Linked DNA regions of Homo sapiens: region 2 is linked to region 1. The links are contacts of gene promoters, found by promoter capture Hi-C in blood cells and fetal thymus (Javierre and others, 2016). All regions are on one chromosome and are shown on one strand. Each heading gives the region's core, a stretch centred on a gene start or on the middle of the fragment in contact. The rest is flanking DNA. Distances are from core to core; before and after follow the strand shown. Region 1 holds the start of SAXO1 (stabilizer of axonemal microtubules 1). Region 2 has its middle 220 kb from the start of SH3GL2.

Region 1 (4,443 bases), core at 710-3,209:
AGGAGGGTAATGTAAAGCATCCCAGTAGAAAGAAGGCCTTAGTGGCTCATGCCTGTAATCCCAGCACTTTGGGAGGCCGAGGCAGGCGATCACCTGAGATCAGGAGTTCAAAACCAGCCTGGACAACATGGTTGAAACCCTGTCTCTACTAAAAATACAAAAATTAGCCAGGCATGGTGGCATGTGCCTGTAATCCCATCTACTCAGGAGGCTGAGGCAGGAGAATCACTTGAACCCTGAGGCATAGGTTGCAGTGAAGCGAGATGGCACCACTGCACTCCAGCCTGCGCAACAGAGCAAGACACTGCCTCCAAAAAGAAAAAAGAAAGGCGGCCTTAGAAAAAAAGGTTTTGCTTGGTAACATGTAGTCCTAGACTATACACTGCTCTGGCCCCACTTAACAAAGCTCAAAAGCAAGACCCACGTTTGTACATGATCTAGTTCAGTGAGTCCCAGTCCTAGCAAATGGCCAGAATCACCTTTAGACAGTTGACAGGGCCCACTCTGAGAGTATCAATTCAACGGCCTGAGCAACTGATAGTTTTCAAACTCCCTGTGTGATTCTAATCAGCAGCCAGAGTTGGGAACCATTTATTGATGCCAGAGATATAGAAGGTTGCTGATCCAGTTTTTAGAGTGCCCTTTAATTCTCCACACTACTGATACCATTTTTATATGCATGTGTCATATTTGCCCTTTTTTCAGATTTCAGGACACTAACATATTAAGCACAATCCATGTACCAGGACTCACATACATGATCTTAACTCTTACAATAGTCCTATGAGGTACGTATTGTTGGTACAGATGAGGCGACTATGACCTGGAGTTTAGTTACCAATCTAAGATCCCACAATTAATGACAGCCCAGGAAAGGTGACCTCAGAACCCTCTTGCCTGTTGCTCCTCTGCTGCCCACTCCCTGCCCCAGCCAAGCAGAAACCCAGCTGCCCTGGGAAGCAGATAGAAGGAGCCTCTAAGAGATCATGTGAGTGACAGCAGACCAGTCAGCCCGTGGGACTCTGACTAAAGTCCATGATTTCCCCCAGGACCACCTTTACTGCGCTTCCACCCAAAGATGGTCCTTAAAGGTTAGAAGGGAGACCTGGCAGGCCAGGCGACTGTGAAAGTAATGTTTTCATTATCCTTATTCAACTCTACACAATGTGGAACAAGTTTTACTAATACCTTATACTTCTCTGACAAAGTAACAATCTCTCTGAATGAGAAATTCAGTTATACTACAGGAATTCTCCTCCCATCCTATCACTTTCCCAAAAGGAGCAAGACTGGTCCCACTGGGCCAGGTGTTCTCCCTCCTTGGCTGACACTTTCTGGGCTTCAGGGAAGGGAGTGCAGACTGCGCGGTCACGCCCATTTTCAACCCTCCTGCAGTTCTCAAGTGAAGCGGCACAGAAGGCCCGAAAACAGCCACATTCGCCAGAACTGATGTGGCGTCCGCGGGCACAACGCTAGTTGACACAATTGTGGCTTAAAAAACGTAGCAAGTGGACGAACCCACCGTGATGCCGCCTGATGAAGCAGCTGGGGGAGGCTTCCCTTCCTCGGGAGTCTGAAAACCCAGGCTCCCCCAGCCTTGCCCTGGGCGTGGCCACCTTACCCGCAGGAGCACAGTTCACAGATGCACTTCGTCTTCATAGGGGCGATCCTGAGGCCCTGACGTCCCCTCAGAGCATCGCCAGCTGCAGCCGACTCCTAGACCCCAACCACCTGTCTTGGGGCACGCCCAGGCTCGAGGGTCTTGGCAGGTGTTCTGTTTACTCGAAGGAAAATTTAAGTGGCCCTTTTGCAATGTCCTGTCGTCTGTTGCCCTCCTGGAGCTGGCCTAGCGCGAGGTAGCAGCAGGGGGCTTGCACGCGCGCCAGCCCGGGAGACCTCACCCTGCACGCCACCGCCCCGGCCTCCGCAGTCCAGACTTAAGCACCTGGAGCGGCTGACTGGGCCCCAGGAAGCTGCGGGGTCCGTGCCCAGGTAGCCTCTGTGATGTCGCCAGGGCCAGGAGGGGCACGCCTCAGGTGGCAATTACATCACAAGAGCCGCTTGTGAGGTCGGGAAGCTCCCAGCACCTCACTGGCAGGCCCAGGACAGGGGTTCCCCGGTGAACCTTGGAAAAACCTGAAAAAGGTGGAAGTCACTAGAAAGCTCCTGGTGCAGTAAACGGTCACACGTGCAGAAAAGCTGAAAACTCCCTCACCATCACCTTGGGTGGCATTTGCTATCTCTAGGATCCATGGTGCCCCCTCTTAGGGGAATACAGCCTTGACTTCCAAAAGGCTTGCCTTGAACAGGGTTTCCAGATCTTCCTGTGGAAACCTAGGCCTTTGGCTTCAGATGTCTGTTAGAATTGCTCTCACCCACAGACCTGCGCTCTTGAGAACACAGTGGTTTAAGAGCGCCCAGGCCTTCACTGCTCAGGTGGGTTCTCAATCACTTCTCCAGATGCTGGTAATGATGCCTTGAAGCAGGCGTTCTCAAATTCTAGTTGGCATCAGGACCACCTGGCTTGATGAAAACCAGATTGCCAGACCCCACCCCCAGTTTCTGATTCAGTGTTTCTAGGGTAGGCCAAAGACTTGCATTTCTTACAAGCTCTCAGGTAATGCTGGTTCTGCTGGGCCACGGACCACACTTTAAGAACTACAGCTTTTGAGGTTCCTTTACACCCCCTGGAATAGTGTTTCTTCAGCTTACCTGATCCCGAGAGCACACCCCCACCCAGAAGTCTCCCTTGCATCAAAACCTCTAGTCCGGGAATCTAGCTTCAACAAGAAGCCAGGTGATTCTGGTCATGAAGCAAGTTCAAAAGACACTGCTCTGGCCAGTTGTTTGGACTTAAAACATTTTGACTTCCTGCTTATGGGAAATGGGAGCTTAAAGTATTGACAATCTTTATGCTTTTCTTTCCTATGCTTCCTAACTCTTTCCATTCATTTTAGTGAATGAGTCAGTCAGAGGCATCTTGGACTGCAAGACACTTAATATTCAGAGGGTTTCTTTTTGTGTGGGGGGGGTTAGGTTTTTTCCTTCAGTAATAGGCTCTAGAATAGAGGTCAGCAAACTATTGTCTGCAGTTGGCCACTTGACTCTATCTGGCCATTGAGCTAAGAATGGTTTTCATATTTTTTAATGGTTGAAAAAATTAAAATAATAATATTACATGACAAATGAAACTTACCTAAAATTCAAATTTCAGTGTCTGTGAATAAAGTTTTGAATTTTTTCAAAAAATTTGTGTAAACATTCCCGATTTTGCCTCTTGGCCCACAAAAGCTAAAATATTCACTATCTGACATTTTACAGAGAGAGAGTTCCAACCCCAGTTATAGGAAGTCAGCAAGGTAGATTCAGACAGGAGCAAAGCTTATTGATCATTCTTAAGAACAGTGGGGTGGGAAGCTGCTCCTTGCCTTCCCAGTAGGAAGTCAGAACTCTACAGGGGAGGATGGAAACATGGCCAGACAAAAAAGAGGTGGGAGCTATTGGAAGTCAAAGCAAAACCTGCATGCCATCCATTGCCATTGACAGAGAACATCACACAGTCCTTACAGAGGAAATACAGTGCTGGACACCAGCCTTCTCTTGATGGCTGCCTAAACATTATCCATAAATCTTTCAGCAGAAGAATGCCTGTTCATGCCCCCTGCCATTCAAACTGCCCTTGTGGGTGGCCACCTTGTCAACAATCATGGTACTCCCCACTTCCTCCATCCATGCCCTCAATAGAGGGTAGAGATCTTGAAAGATGAAGATGGTGTGGACAAAATAGCCTCAACAATGATATACCTAAAGATCAGTGCTAGACAGTAGGGACAACCTCCCCTCACCTAGTTACACTTACTGTCCATCTTTTGTTACATCCAGCCAAACTTACCCTGACCCATCTGATATGGTTTGGTTCTGTGTCCCCACCCAAATCTAATCTTGAATTGTACTCCCATAATTCCCACATGTTGTGGGAGGGACCCAGTGGGAGATAATTTGAATCATGGGGGCGGTTTCCCCCATACTGCTCTTATGATAGAGAATAAGTCTCATGAGATCTGACGGTTTTATCTTCATTTTTCTCTCTTGCCACCCGCCATGTAGGAAGGGTCTTTCACCTCCCACCATGATTCTGAGACCTCCCCAGCCATGTGGAACTGTAAGTCCAATTAAACTGCTTTATCTTCCCAGTCTCAGATATGTCTTTATCAGCAGCATGAAAATGGACTAATACAGTAAATTGGTACCAGCAGAGTGGGATGCTGCTGAAAAGTTACCCAAAAATGAGGAAGCAACTTTGGAACTGGGTAATAGGCAGAGGTTGGAACAGTTTGGAGGGCTCCGAAGAAGACAGGAAAATGTGAGAAAATTTGGAACTTCCTAGAGACTTGTTGAATGGCTTTGCCCAAAATGCTGATAGCGATATGGACAATAAAGTCC
Region 2 (4,443 bases), core at 750-3,249, 1.2 Mb before region 1:
TTGTAAAGGTATCATTTTCCTCCAAATCTAGCTGTTTATTAAGTGCGATTTCAACCAGAAATCTTAGGAAGTTTGTTTCCATGTGTTCGAGAACTGACAAGTTCAACTTTTAAGCCTGTCATAAAATTTTTGTGGAAAAGAAAAAAGATGTTTTTTCTCAAAGAAGAACAAAGTTGGAGGACTCTTTCTAGATATAAAACATTAAAAAGTTACAGTAATTAAGGTAGTATGGTTTTGATACAAAGATAGCAGAATAGATTGTATATACAGAATAGCGAGTCCAGAAAGAGACATAGATGCATTCGACCATATTTGAAGGAAAAGCATTCCATTATGTTTAATGTGATGCACTCATATCAACTGAACCTTTTTAATATCAGTTCCATAACCCCAAAGTGAAAACAGCAAGACTTTGTGCCAAATACAGTAATCTCACTATGAGTCAATGTCACATGAAACAAGTGTCATGACCACAGATTCCAGGAAGAACTTACTCTTGATTTAAGGAAGAGTTTTGGAGACCATTACTAATGCACTCACCAGATACAGGACTGTTTGAATTCTTTATTTTTATTGAGGTATAGTTAATACCTTAGTACAAAACCTTATGTATGGAAATTACTCAGTGGACCACCACTAGAAGTTGAACTTGCCAGAAAACACTTGTTCTTCCAAGTCAAATCATTGAAACAAACTGCCTAAAGTGGAAACAGAAGCAGAATTAAACTGAACTAAAATGATTAATAAATTCAGTGGGGCAATGGTTTCGCTTCTTTTTCTAATAGGTCTACTAGGTTTAATAGGTCTTAAAGAGAAAACTCAAGGAGTATAGTTATTTTCACGTAGTTTCTCTTTGCCATAAATCAGTAGACAATAAGAATGATACGACCTAGAATGGAAGTTTCCCTGGGGCTGTGTATAGTACACAACATACATTCTGGAACGTGCCAAGTCCTGTTCTGCATACATTATTTAGGAAATTGAGATTAGCCCAACACTCCATTTTCAAGATAGCTTCTAGTGTTCTGGATGAAACCGTTAATATGTGGGCACTTTTATTTTCTTTCACTGAGATCCCAGGAAACAGTATGTGGGCACTTTTAAAGCCTGTGTTTCATTAGCCAGATTAAGAACTACTGCTAAACATGCAGACTGCCTTCCATCCCACGGAGATGGGGAAGTGATGAAGGAGGGACGTTATGCTGAAGAAGGAGGCAGACAGCTGCCATTAGAACTCTGGGTGGTGGTTCGTGGAAGAGACTTAGAGTGCTGCAAGGCCATACCAGCAATTTCTAGGCCCAGCTTTTGGGGACTAGTTATGAGCCCCTTGGTTAAAGGGGCTGTCAAGGAAAAGAACAAAGCTATTTTTTAAGGACCCATTGAATGCTAACTGCTTACAGTCAGGCAGTTGAATGTTACTCTGCTATCATGTATGCCTAAGTGATGGCAGCCTTCCACTTAAGGGCAGGAGACAACTGTGATTCTTGACAGCAGGGGAGCAGGCTGTTAGCTTTGGGAGCAAAAGAATGAAGCACAGCATCTCACTACCACTTTCTTGAAAAGGAAACTGAATATGATGATTTGCTAGTTTGGGGAAAGGCCAAAGAATCCATTTTTAAATAGCTCTGTCAGTGATTTTTATGTGCATCCCTTATCAAAACGTCTGCCTCCAGGACACGTGGAGATAAGAAATCAAGAACCTAGAGTTTCTTAAGCTTACCTGATAATAAGAGTCACCTGGAGATAACTACAAATTGGATTTCCAGGTTCTCATTACAGCTGCTCAGAATCAGAACTGCCCATAGAGGGGCCCCTAGCAAGTGGTATTTACCATTGAAAGATTTAGGAGAAACTCTACAGGGCATCTAAAACTGATATGTGCTTTATCACCTGGGTATTGTTAAAACATGCCTGGCCTCCATCTCCAGATGTTCTCGTTCAGAATGTCTGGAGTGGGGCCCGAGAATGTGCATTTCTAACAAGCTCCATAGAGATGTTGCCAGTCCCTGGACCACACTTGAAGTAGTGCTGCTCTACCAAATAAACTTAGGAAGAGCCAGCTCTTGGCCCTGCCTTTGGTGTTGAGAATGACCAGAAAACAGACATATTCAGTCATTTTCCTCAACTGAAGTGTTCTTTGGGCTCACACACTGAATAAAACTTTGGTGGAGAATGATGGCTTAGGGAAATCCAGGCATTTTTTACAGACCCCAGAAGTCCCACTTGAGTTGTGCCCCGGTAGCCTCTTAAACATGCCCTTGAGGGTCAGCATCAGGTTTTTTAGCAAGCTTCCCAAGCAACTCTCCCATTCCTGCAAGTCTGGGGAGCTCTTGTGTGTATAAAAACTTTTTAAATAAGTAGCCAACTGCTCACTGACTTTCTTACCTACTGGTTTTGCTCTGAGACATTTGCATTTATTGATTGATCCAGTAACTTCAATGCATGTTTCCACTCAGAGTGATCTTGCAAATTCAGGACATCCTGTGTTTTTCCAACTTTGCTGACGACATTAAAGATGCGCTAGATTTGAGTCTGTGCTGACTTGGAATTCCCACTTCTTTCCTGGTCATTCGTTTACGCTTTGCTTTCCGCTTCCCCTCTTGCGAGGGAATCAGAGAGATATGTCTGCAGTTAGCCCCATGTTCCTCAGATGGGCTGCTCTTAGAGCTCTTGCTTTTCTTGTTTAGATCAGTGGGTCACACCCTGCAGTTCATACCAGAACCCTGAGGGATACGTGCTAAGATGCGGATTTCTGGGGCTGACACCGACGTTCTGATTCCATTTTCTAGAACAGGGCCAGGATCCACATGGGTGACAGGCATCCTGCCCCACCCCATGGTTCTTACAGAGGCAGCGTTCAAAGCCACACTCTGAAGAACCCGCCTTCAAATTTGGGAATTCTTTGATTTGTGAGTGCAGTGGAAGAAGACCATTTAAGAGATGGCTTGGCAACCAAGAAGGGGATATGAGGGACCAGCTTCCTCTCACATTGCAATACAAGTGCTTCCCATGAAAAGAGAAAGTTAACAGTATTGCAGAATGCACAGGTTAATCCCTGACATTAACAGTGACACACACTTCTCTCTTGGTTTTTCTTTTCTGGAATGAAAAAAGATCTGAATTTATTATGTATGAAATAGGGATGAAGAAGGAAGGTGGTTCGAGTCTGAGGAAACATAGACTTACTGACTTCACATACCCAATCATCAAAATTTTGGTGCCATCTAATTATGTATTGTCTTTTATGTTCTTTTTAAATTCTTGTTCTTTTATTTTTCCCAAAGTATTTTCGTGGGACCTAGATTGCCCTCTACTGGCCTGCCCCAAAATTAATCAGTTGCCAATCTGACCAATTTTCCTGGTGGTTATATAGTCATCATATACATAAGCTGCATTTAAGGTCTTTCTTTCTCACATAGCATGCTGCTTAAACTATTGCTCCTTTAATAAGTTAGTCATTTTTAGCAAGTATTGGTGTCAAAGTGATATCCAGTAAATAGTATGTGATCTTTGGGAAAAGAACCAAATTCTTGTTCTTCTAATAAAAAGCGTGCTTGTGGATCAGCTGGCATAGTTACCCAGTGACTGTCAGTTTTACTAGGGCTGCATGTTTGCCCTATAGGAATTACCCAAACTCCTTGAACTGCTTGATGATCTGCAGTCTCACCTCAGCTTTCTGAAACAGCTGAAAAGGTGTAGGTCACAGTATTTCACCTTGGACATCAGCCCTAGAAAAATGCCGTATCTAAAGACAATAGTAAAAGTTATACAGTATAAACAACAGTATTCTTATGAGTAATGCTTAGAGCAGCTTTATAAGGTACAATTTACCTACTATAACATTCACCCATTTGAAATGTACAGGTTAATGGTTTTCGGTAAGTGTATAGAAACATGCAAATAGCACCAAACTCCAGTTTTAGAACATCTCCATCACACCCAAGAGTTGTGCCCATTTGCAGTCGACCCTGCTTCTACCCCCATCTTCAGGCAGCCACTAATTTGTGAGTAATGTTTTAAATTACAAAAATTGAGATATTTTAGTTAAGTGGAAATCATTATAGTTTCATTGATAAATAGCACTGGCATCATTAGCCATCCGTCTTGAAAAATATCCCAACTAACGTGCTCACCTCCATGAAACCTCTCTCCACGTCCTTACCACTCTGATAAGGTAGCTCCAGCATCTGTACTTTGTTCACTTCAGGCTCTCACCATATCCAAGTTTTAAGGGGCTATCCCAGCAACACATTAGGACTAGCTCCAGGTGTTGAATATTGAGTCACAGGAGAGTTCTCCCATGCCAATAAATTATCCAATTCAGCCTTAAATTTCTCTCATCCATCCCCATTTCAACACTCTTGAGATTCACTCCCACGAGTCTGCCCCTAGTCTCTGCCAGTACTTATGAGCCTGCTCTTCCTACAGTGCATAGACTGTTTC

The links. The method cuts DNA at HindIII sites, captures the fragments that hold promoters and counts their contacts. A CHiCAGO score of 5 or more calls a contact.
Region 2: a fragment that was not itself captured here is called in contact with the fragment with the promoter of SAXO1 in region 1 in 2 of 17 cell types (endothelial precursors and M2 macrophages); the score reaches 8.5 in endothelial precursors.

The regions. Positions count from the first base shown.
Region 1 is chr9:19,031,250-19,035,692 of GRCh38, forward strand. It overlaps SAXO1 (stabilizer of axonemal microtubules 1), which reads right to left and starts at 1,960. Exons shown (of 4, transcript NM_153707.4): 1 at 1,622-1,960. The coding sequence starts at 1,659. RefSeq lists enhancers at 1,282-1,835, 1,836-2,389. The HindIII fragment of the contact is 8,262 bases long and covers 1-3,379 here.
Region 2 is chr9:17,799,128-17,803,570 of GRCh38, forward strand. No RefSeq gene overlaps it. Among named protein-coding and RNA genes, the nearest start is that of SH3GL2, 220 kb to the left of the region's middle. The HindIII fragment of the contact is 573 bases long and covers 1,714-2,286 here.